2 separate regions of the Homo sapiens genome follow, and region 1 is linked to region 2. Evidence: promoter capture Hi-C in 16 types of primary human blood cells and fetal thymus (Javierre and others, 2016). All regions are on one chromosome and are shown on one strand. The core of a region is centred on a gene start or on the middle of the fragment in contact, and the rest is flanking DNA. Distances in the headings are between cores, read along the strand shown. Region 1 has its middle 46 kb from the start of KIFBP. Region 2 holds the start of SRGN (serglycin).

Evidence for each region. The method cuts DNA at HindIII sites, captures the fragments that hold promoters and counts their contacts. A CHiCAGO score of 5 or more calls a contact.
Region 1: a contact is called between a fragment that was not itself captured here and the fragment with the promoter of SRGN in region 2, in 4 of 17 cell types (monocytes, neutrophils, total CD8 T cells and 1 more). The highest score is 16.8, in monocytes.

The regions. Positions count from the first base shown.
Region 1 is chr10:69,032,015-69,037,311 of GRCh38, reverse strand. No RefSeq gene overlaps it. Among named protein-coding and RNA genes, the nearest start is that of KIFBP, 46 kb to the right of the region's middle. The HindIII fragment of the contact is 8,335 bases long and covers 1-5,297 here.
Region 2 is chr10:69,086,368-69,091,473 of GRCh38, reverse strand. It overlaps SRGN (serglycin), which reads right to left and starts at 3,371. Exons shown (of 3, transcript NM_002727.4): 1 at 3,238-3,371. The coding sequence starts at 3,316. RefSeq lists a silencer at 1,163-1,342 and enhancers at 2,041-3,240, 4,888-5,057. The HindIII fragment of the contact is 21,371 bases long and covers 44-5,106 here.

The DNA of each region.
Region 1 (5,297 bases), core at 2,246-4,745, 54 kb after region 2:
CAGCCTCCTGAGTAGCTGGGACTATAGGCACGCACTGCCACACCCAGCTAATTTTTATATTTATAGTAGAGTCGGGGTTTCACCATGTTGACCAGGCTGTTCTTGAACTCCTGGGCTCAAGTGATCCATCCCCCTCGGCCTCCCAAAGTGCTGGGATTACAGGCATGAGCCACCATGCCCAGCCTTACTCATCTGTAAGTGTACCGTTCTGTGGCATTAAGTATATTCACACTGTTGTGCAATTATCACCGCCATTGTTGTTTTGGGGATAGCAATCTGCCAGTTTTCCTCTAAGGAATCACCAGCCCCCAGGTCTCATTCCCTGTGCTTTAGGGGGGCTTCTGAAGTTTCAGCTTCAGGGATGCATATGAAATTCATGCCTGACCCATGAGAATTTCTCCTAGGCCACAGGGTTTGGTCCAGGGACAGCCCTGGACAGAAGATGGGTTAGTGAGAGTCAATACTCATCATCCTGGGTTATGCTAAAATTACCAGGAGAGAGGACCCTTCGTTAACATTGCTAAGCTGGTAGGATGTAAGCCTGGGGCTCCAGGGCCACTCATGGAAAGAGACTGCCCAAAATCAACAGCAAGGAAAGCAGATCCAAGAGGTAAAGCGAGAAAGATGCTGAGCACTCGGTTATCTAAGTCAATACATGGTTCTTTTCTTTTCTTTTTTCTTTCTTTCTTTTGTACTTGCAAAGAGACCCGACTAATACAATGTAGTAGGGAGAATAATAGCACCACCACCTCCCCAAAGATGTCCATGTCTTAATTGTCCTAATTCCTAGAAATGGTGACTGTTGCCTTACACAGCAAAGGGAAATTGGGGATGCAGATGGATTAAGGCTGCTAATCATATGCCCCCCCCCCTTTTTTTTTTTGAGACGGAATCTAGCTCTGTCGCCCAGGCTGGAGTGCAGTGGCACGATCTCAGCTCACTGCAAGCTCTGCCTCCCGGGTTCACGCCATTCTCCTGCCTCAGCCTCCCAGGTAGCTGGGACTACAGGTACCCGCCATCAGGCCTGGCTAATTTTTTATATTTTTAGTAGAGCTGGGGTTTCACCGTGGTCTTGATCTCCTGACCTCATGATCCGCCTACCTCAGCCTCCCAAAGTGCTGGGATTACAAGTGTTAGCCACCGCGCCTGGCCAATCATATGCTCTTAAAAAAGAGAGATTCTCCTGGATCATCCGGGTGGGCCCAACATCATCACAGAGGTCCTTTCTCACAGAAGTGGAAGAGGAAGACAAAAGACAAAAGATAGGTCCTAATGATGTGATGTGAGAGGGGCTAGACTTGCCTTCGCCAGCTTGAAGACGACAGAAGGGGCCACAAGCCAAGCAATGTGGGCAGCCTCTGGAGGCTGGAGAAGGTAAGAAAACTCTCTCTAGAACCTCCAGAGAGGCCTGCAGCCTTGTCAACACCTAAGTTTTATGCCACTAAGACTCATGTCAGACTTACACAGAACTACGGAACTGTAAAATAGTAAATTCATGTAGTTTTAACCACCAAGTTTGTGGTAATTTGTTACAGCAAATGGAAAACTAAAACATCCAGTATTTCAGCAGTTGGTTCATAACACACCTCTGTTAAAGCATAGCCAGTGACTCCACCTGCCTGCCTGCAGGACAAGCCCACACTCCTCACCCGGAATTCAGGTCCTTCATGGGCTGCTCTGTCTGGCCCCAATCTACCCTCTGGCCTCATAGTGCGATCTCCCAGGCTCAAGTAATCCTCCCACCTCAGCCTCCCAAGTAGCTGGGTCTACAGGCCTGTGCCAACATGTCTGGCTAATTAATTAATTATTTTTTTCCAAGATGGGGGTCTCCCTATGTTGCCCAGGCTGGTCTTGAACTTCTATGCTCAAATGATCCTCCTGCCTCAACCTCTCAAAATGCTGGGATGACAGGTGTCAGCCACCGCACCAAGCCGGGCCTTCTGTCTTGATCAGTACTTCTTTCAGTGTCTTCAGCCAGGATTGATCTCCTTATTTTTCTCTCTGAGCCTTTGGTGCTAAAACTAACCCAAGTCTTTCCATCTCTTCCCCTGCAAAACATGCCATGCTTCCTCTGCCTATCGTAACTGCATGTGTCTCTTCCTTCATCCCAGCTCGGCCAGGTGAACTTCTTTCCTCGGTGTCGACACACAAGACTCATTTTGGGTGAGCCTGCTGACTTGCAGATCCAAGAGGGCTCGCCTCCTTCCCAAACTGTGCACCTCACCTCCCAGCTCATCTTTTTTTTTTTTTCGAGACAGAGTCTCGTTCTGTCACCCAGGCAGGTGTGATCTCACCTCGCTGCAACCTCCACCTCCCGGGTTCAAGCAATTCTCATGCCTCAGCCTCCCAAGTAACAGGGACTACAGGTGCCTGCCACCATGCCCTACTAATTTTTGTATTTTTATAGATACGGGGGTTTCACCACGTTGGCCAGGCTGGTCTCGAACTCCTGACCTCAAGTGATCTGCCCACCTTGGCCTCCCAAAGTTCTGGGATTACAGGCATGAGCCACCTCACCCAGCCCCAGCTCATCTTCTTAGAGAGGCATCTCACCTCCACCTCCACATTCCAGGGTGGTAGCTGAGCAGCAGTCAGAGAACAATCAGCCCGGACTGGAGTAGGAAGGGGAGCTCCTGGAGGGAGGTCTTTGGGGGAGAAAATAACTCTATAGAATTGGTTATGATGATGGTGAGTTTGACAATCTGAAGATATTAAGGGCAAATACTGAAAGGAAAAAGAGCAAAGTTAGGAACTCCAGGAAGAACACAAATCTGTGCAGGAAAGGAACATAATCAAAGTATATTTCAGGCTGGGCACAGTGGCTCATGCCTGTAATCCCAGCACTTTGGGAGGCCAAGGTGCAAGGATTGCCTGAGCCCAGGAGTTGGAGACCAGCCTGTGCAACATAGGGAGACCTTTATCTCTACAAAGAATAAAAATAAATTAGCCGGGTGTGGTGGTGCATGCCTATAGTCTCAGCTATATGGGAGACTGAGGTGGGAAGATCACTTGAGCCTGGGAGGTTGATGTTGCAGTGAGCCATGATCACCTCACTGCACTCCAGCCTGGGTAACAGAGACGGACCCTGTCTCAAATCAACAACAATAATGGTGACGTATATTTTACTTGATTCTGCAGTGGGCAATATATATATACACAGTCATAATGTAGACAATATTTGTTGATTGATTACTAACCTTCAGGATCTCCCTACAGACAGAGATACAGTAATAATTTTTTTTTTCTTGAGAAGGAGTCTCACTCTGTTGCCCAGGCTGGAGGGCAGTGGCACGATCTCGGCTCACTGCCACCTCCACCTCCCAGGTTCACACAATTCTCCTGCCTCAGCCTCCCAAGTAGCTGTGATTACAGGTGCCCACCACAATGCCCGGCTAAGAGACATACTAATAATTATGACCACATAATAGAATGTATGCATAACCCCTGACAATGTATAAATGAGAATACAGAGGATTTGTGAGGTTGATGAAGAAAGGGAAGTTTGAAGGGTAGGGGCACTAATATTCTTATCTTAGTGGGTGGTCAAGAAATAGAACAACACACACCTATATCTACAAATTTACTATATGTATTATACATATGCAAGTAGATATATGTATATATATTACATATATGGTTTAACAAAAAAGTGTTATATTGGGAGATACATTGAAAGAAGTGAGGAGGGGAAGTGGGGTGTTGTAAGTGAATTAAATCATTTGCCATCATTGGAGAAATCAACAGATAATGTTTTAAATTGCTAAATCAAGAAATAGTGATATGAACATGTTATTACAACATGTCCAGGTAACCACCAAAAGACGGTTAAACAGATTTTCTCCTGGGAGTGGTGGAGGGGAATGAGTAGGGAACAATAGTACTAGAGACTGGGACTGGCACTTTCATTTTAAACTGCTTGCAACTATTATTTTCAAATTGGGGTGTTTCTTTTTTTTTTTGAGACAGTCTTGCTCTTGTCCCCCAGGCTGGAGTGTGATGTCGTGATCTCGGCTCACTGCAACCTCCCCTTCCCGAGTTCAAGTGATTCTCCTCCCTCAGCCTCCTGAGTAGCTGGGATTACAGGCGCGTGCCACCATGCCCAGCTAATTGTTGTATTTTTAGTAGAGACAGGGTTTCACCATGTTGGCCAGGCTGGTCTCGAACTCCTGACCTCAGGTGATCCACCCGCCTCAGCCTCCCAAAATGCTGGGATTACAGGCATGAGCCACCATGCCTGGCCAAATTTCGGGTGTTTCTTAAATTTATTTTTTTTTAGGAGATGGATCTTGGCCAGGCGTGGTGGCTCCCACCTATAATCCCAGCACTTTGGGAGGCCGAGGTGGGTGGATCATGAAATCAGCAGATCAAGACCATCCTGGCTAACATGGTGAAACCCTGTCTCTACTAAAAATACAAAAAATTAGCCAGGCGTGGTGGCATGCACTTGTAGTCCCAGCTACTCAGGAGGCTAAGGCAGGAGAATCGCTTGAACCTGGGAGGCAGAGGTTGCAGTGAGTGGAGATCGTGCCACTGCACTCCAGCCTGGGCAACAGAGCGAGACTCCAACTCAAAATAATAATAATAAATTTAAAAATTAAGTATATATGTACTTATTTATAATAAAATAACTAAAAAGGAAATGAATAAAAGTATATGTATGTGTGCACATGTGAGAGAGAGAGAAAGAGACAGTAGCATTCAATAAATTCTAATTTAAGGATAAGTAAGCCAAACAGATGAAGAACTAATGAAAAAAATAAAAATAAAAGCCAGTCACAGTGACTTGAAAATATAATCCCAGCTACTTGGGAGCCTGGGGAGGGAGGATTGCTTGAACCCAGGAATCCAGGGCAATATGAATATAGTGAGACCCTCATCTCTAAAACAATTTTTTTTAAGATGAAGAATTAGATATAGATGGTAAGTAATATGTCTTAAGTATGAGGCCAGGCGAGGTGGCACATGTCTGTAATCCCAGCATTTGGGAGGCTGAGGCAGAAGGATCCCTTAAACCCAGGAGTTCAAGACCAGCCTGGGCAATATAGTGAGACCCCCTCTCTACAAAAAGTGAACAGAATTAGCCAGGCATTGTGGCATGCACCTGTAGTCTCAGCTATTCTGGAGGCTGAGGTGGGAAGATCGCTTAAGCCTGGAAGGTCAAAGCTACAGTGAGCCAAGTTCACGCCACTGCACTCTAGCCTAGATGACAGAGTGAGACCCTGTCTCAAAAGAAAAAGGAAAAGAAGAAAAAAAGGAATGAACAGCATTGCCCTGGGGTGCCTGGAGAGGCTAGAAGC
Region 2 (5,106 bases), core at 2,122-4,621:
GTTACTTCCTCCTGGTCTATCAATTCCACAAGATGGATAAGCTTCCCCCACTCTTGCATGGTTTGACAAGCTATAAAAAGCTCCTAAGTTTACTTTCAATTTCTCCCTCAACTCAGTGGGAAACGTTATAGCAAGGGCTACGGTCAAAGGATTTTTTGTTTGTTTGTTTAAATAAAGAAAACCTCTGATCCATGAGCTGCAGTAGAAAGTTAATTCTGGCCTTGAAATCAGACGACCAGTTCAGCCGTTAATTAGTTGTAATGGGTCTTGGGCAAGACTCACAAATTTTTTGCAAGAGGTTAATGTATAGAGCAAATGAGATGAGAAATGTCAGATCCAGTTTTCTCCTCTATAATTGGTGCTAATTCCTCATCACAGGGAATGTGATGATGATTACCAGAGAATGGATGTGAAATCACTTTACAAAGAGCAGCACAAGGAGTGGATCAGTATCATTCCTGTGAGCTAGGAGACAGTATACAGTGGACACATGGCGGGCCTGGCCTCCTTGGCTGCACCTGTTCATGGATATTCCATTTTTTTTCTTTATGGGTGTCATTGGAAAAGAGAGGCAATAAAAGTGGAAGATTCACAGGCCTCATCAAATCCCCTGGAGCCCTACATTAAATAGATTAGTCATCTGTGCTCTCCAGAGTTACACATCCCCAAATTTCCATTTCTTTGTGCTTGGTAAACACAATCTTACCCCACATCTTTACTTGGGTTTGACTTATAATAAAAATATACCACCACCAAATTCATATGTTCCAGTTCTAACCCACAGAATCTCACAATGTGAAATTGTTCAGAAATAGGGTCATTGCAGATATAGGTAGTTAAGATGAGGCCATTAGGGTGGCCCTGATCCAATGCCTGGTGACCCTCTAAGAAGATGGTATTAAGACACGGATGCATGGAGGAAAGGCCATGTGCAGACAAGGGAGAAGGCGCCATCTATAAGCCAAGGAGAGAGGCCTCAGAATGCGATCGACCCTGCCAGCACCTTGATCTTGGACTCCCATCTCCAGAACTGTGAGGAAATACATTTCTGTTATTTAAGCCACTCAGTCCGTGGTACTTTGTTATGGCAACCCGAGCAAACCACTATAGTGACCTGAAATGGTTTTGAATATGCTCAGTAAAAGCAAGCCAAAAGCCTAGTTGATTTCATCTGCCAAACCAACGGGCTAGATAAACACTTTTTATAAGACAGGAAGAATGTTGTCGAATCATATCTGGCATTGCGTGGAGGTGTGAGGAAATGGTGTCACGACTCTTCACATCACAGCCTTGTGCCGCAGTCACTCACATGTGCAGCCAGTGGGGGACATCTATTTCCCTGCATGCTCAGATGTGGGCACAAGCCCTTGAGCCCGATACTGAGAGCCTTTTTTCGGAAACACCCTAGTTTGTCAGTTTCTCCCTTGTCTCTTTCTATGGTTTCCTTTTCTAACAAAGAGCTAAACCTACGAGGTCATGACATAAATGCTAGTATTCTATACAATTTCATGATGAATTATTTTCTTTCCTTCTCTTTCTTTCTTTCCTTTCTTTCTCTCTCTCTCTCTTTCTTTCTTTCTGACAGAGTCTTGCACTGTCACCTAGGCTGTAGTACAGTGGTGCAATCTCAGCTCACTGCAACCTCCACCTCCCAGGTTCAAGCAATTCTCCTGCCTCAGCCTCCTGAGTAGCTGGGATGACAGGTGTGTGCCACCATGCCCGGCTAATTTTTTTGTATTTTTGGTAGAGACGGGATTTCACTATGTTGGCCAGGCTGGTCTCAAACTCCTGACCTCATGATCTGCCTACCTTGGCCTCTCAAAGTGCTGGGATTACAGGCGTGAGCCACCATGCCCGGCCTTCTTCATTTCTTTCTAATGAATATTATACAAGGAACGTTTTTGTTTTCATTCTAGTTTTCCTTAATGAATCTTAGTGGGAAATTCATGTTTCTGGGAAATTTTGACAACATAAAGACTTACATATCTCTGGTTGGGGTATGCCCAGCACCATCTGGCCATTCAAGACTGTACTAAAGTATGGGCCTCATTACTCTCGATCTTGTCAGACCACTTGGCTATTCGGGAATTATTTCATCAAGCTGAAGATATTCCCTAAAAGATCCCAGTGAAGCCTGTTCCCTACAATTGACAATGTTTTATATTTTAAAAATACATAAATTAATAACGTTCCAGAAACATTACTTGCTCTTTTTTCAGCATTAGCATAACTAGAAGAAAATGATTTTATAAATTTCCAACATAAAATGAATGTCTCTGCGATCATCTGTAAGATTTCATCTCCACCGGAAGTAAGATCATGACAACCAAAAGTCGCTTTGACGAAACAAATCTAGGACATGTGTGTCATTGTGACTCAACATTTCCCTTACCATTTGGCGGAACCTAGTGTTTTTCTACTATAGGTTCAGCCATCTCTCTATCAAGCCATGACCTCCGTCTTATTTAGACATGATTCCTTATTTGCCAAAGAATAACAAATTGTATTTTTCTTACAAGCCTATCATTTTCATTGTCTTAGTCATTACAGGTTTTAAGTTGTTTCAGTCTGACTAAACAACACTAAATGGTAGATAAACCTAGGAAGATATTTCCGAATATGATGCTTCTCTGAGCAAGAGCACAAATACCAAATTATTTGGCCTTCTCTTTAAAATCTGAGAGGTTTTACATGAACTATGTCTAACCATAATTGAGTTTTCAGTAAGAACCAAGTTTATCTTTAAAAAAAAAAAAAAGAAAAGAAAATACACACAGTCAGATTCACCCCAATTGGAATATAACGTCTCCCAGTGTTAAAATAACAATGACACCGTCACAGCGCACTAAAACTTGGGGCTGATGTAGACACTTAGGGGTAGGCAGACACCCCCCAACAGTCAAAGGTGCCATCTCCTCCATGCAACAGGCACAGGAGTCATTTTCTAGATTCCTTTTTTGAGCTTTTAAAATTTATAAACCTCACATTTTCATCCCAAAATAGCACATTTCAATCATTGTAAGAGTTTACAAGACTGCACACGCCACAGAGTTTAATTTTTCTTGGTACCAAACTTAACAGAACTCATATTAAAGGGTTCAGCGACCCCAAATCCTTCTTCTTTGCCTCCTTTCTCACAATATTATACATTCTATGCCTTAAAATGAATATAATGACTTGCATGGACCACAGGGCTTACAGAGAAGATGGCTGGGGAACAAGACTCCTGAGTCTTACCTTGAACTGAGGATTCCAGAACCAGGATGAGGGCAAGAGCCAGGACAAGCCGACTGCATTTGAGTAGCTTCTGCATCATGACCAACTTAGTCTAGCTCTCCCAGCTGCACGCCAACTTCTTGATTAGGAAATGTAGCAGGGTGCTCTCTGTCCCTTTTAGAAAATGTTCCAAAACCTCAAACCCTGCCCAGAACACACGTCACAATTTCCTGAACAAATAGAAAGACATCCACATCAAAACCCAGAAAGAAAGGGGGTGGGGGGAACACAGTAAAATAACTATTCATACCCATTATGAAACTGTACTGGACTCCCCCCAGGCCTGCTTTTTCAAAAGTTTTGTTGTTTGCCACTTGCCTGCAAGACATTTTTTTTTCCCACCGAAACAGTAGAATCAGCATTTGGGACAGTTTGTTTTTCCTTTCTTCAGGTAACAATCTAAACACTAGATTGCTAATATTAAGAATCTGCTGCATTTTTTATGAGATAAGGGATCTAGGTGCTGCCTTTTCGTCACCAAGCACTTTCAACATAAAACATTCTCTTCATTTTCTTTTTCACCGGGGAGTAACATACCTCACTGAGCCAAGCTCGTGAAGTGAAACTTCAAAGCTGAGCTCTAACCTTCAAGAATGAGTTGTCGGATTTCAGATGAACAGTTTCTTCTTCTTCTTTTTCTTCTTTTTTTTTTTTTTTTTTTTTTTTTTGAGATGGAGTCTCACTCTGTCACCCAGGCTGGAGAGCAGTGGCGCGATCTCAGCTCACTGCAACCTCCATCTCCAGGGTTCAAGCAATTCTCCTGCCTCAGCCTCCTGAGTAGCTGGGATTACAGGCGTACACCACTGCGCTGGACTAATTTTGTATTTTTAGTAGAGACGACGTGTCACCATGTTGGCCAGGCTGGCCTCAAACTCCCAACCTCAGGCCATCCGCCTGCCTCAGCCTCCCAAAGTGCTGGGATTACAGGCGTGAGCCACCGTGCCCAGCAAACAGTTTCTTCTTAAACTCAGTTTCTTGCATTGGATCATTGGCTCTCTCTCTATCTCAAGAACATAGGATTTTCAGTTACAAAGACTGTGGTAAAACAGAAAAACTATTTTGCATTCCCCTCTCCTTCACATTGAGCATTTCTTAAGATGGATTCCATTTCTATTTTTATCTGTTCTCCTAGTCAAAATTTTCAACTCGAGTTTTGGGTCCTCTGGCCTTGAATAAGCCAGAAATCAGGAACGAGGGAGAGGTTGTCCTCACAGTGAGCTGCTGGACCTCAGCAAACAACACAAACCTCTGCCTCATGTAAATAAAGGAACAGCATTTTCCCTGGGCATGGTGCAGATTTCTGGAGGACTAAGGCTCCATATTAAAGTTATACAATAAAGGCCAGGTGCTGTGGTCCACACCTGTAATCCCAGCACTTTGGGAGGCTGAGGTGGGTGGATCACAAGGTCAGGAGATCGAGACCATCCTGGCTAACACCGTGAAACCCCGTCTCCACTAAAAATACAAAAAATTAGCCGGGCGTGGTGGCGAGTGCCTGTAGTCCCAGCTACTCGGGAGGCTGGGGTAGGAGAATCGCTTGAACCCGGGAGGCAGAGGTTGCAGTGAGCCAAGATCGTGCCATTGCACTCCAGCCTGGGTGACAGAGAGAGACTCTATTTCAAAAAACTAAAAATAATAAAATAAAATAAAATAAAGTTATACAATAAATACAAGCCTATCATACATCCTTGCCCTTGTGGCATATACATTTTCCTTACTTCCTTTCAAGATTCAACCACTCTCCATTTCAACATGTCTATCCCTACCGCTCCCCCAGACGGCTTAATGCACGTGCCCCACTTTCCATTCTCATCCTCGCCCTTGCCTGGC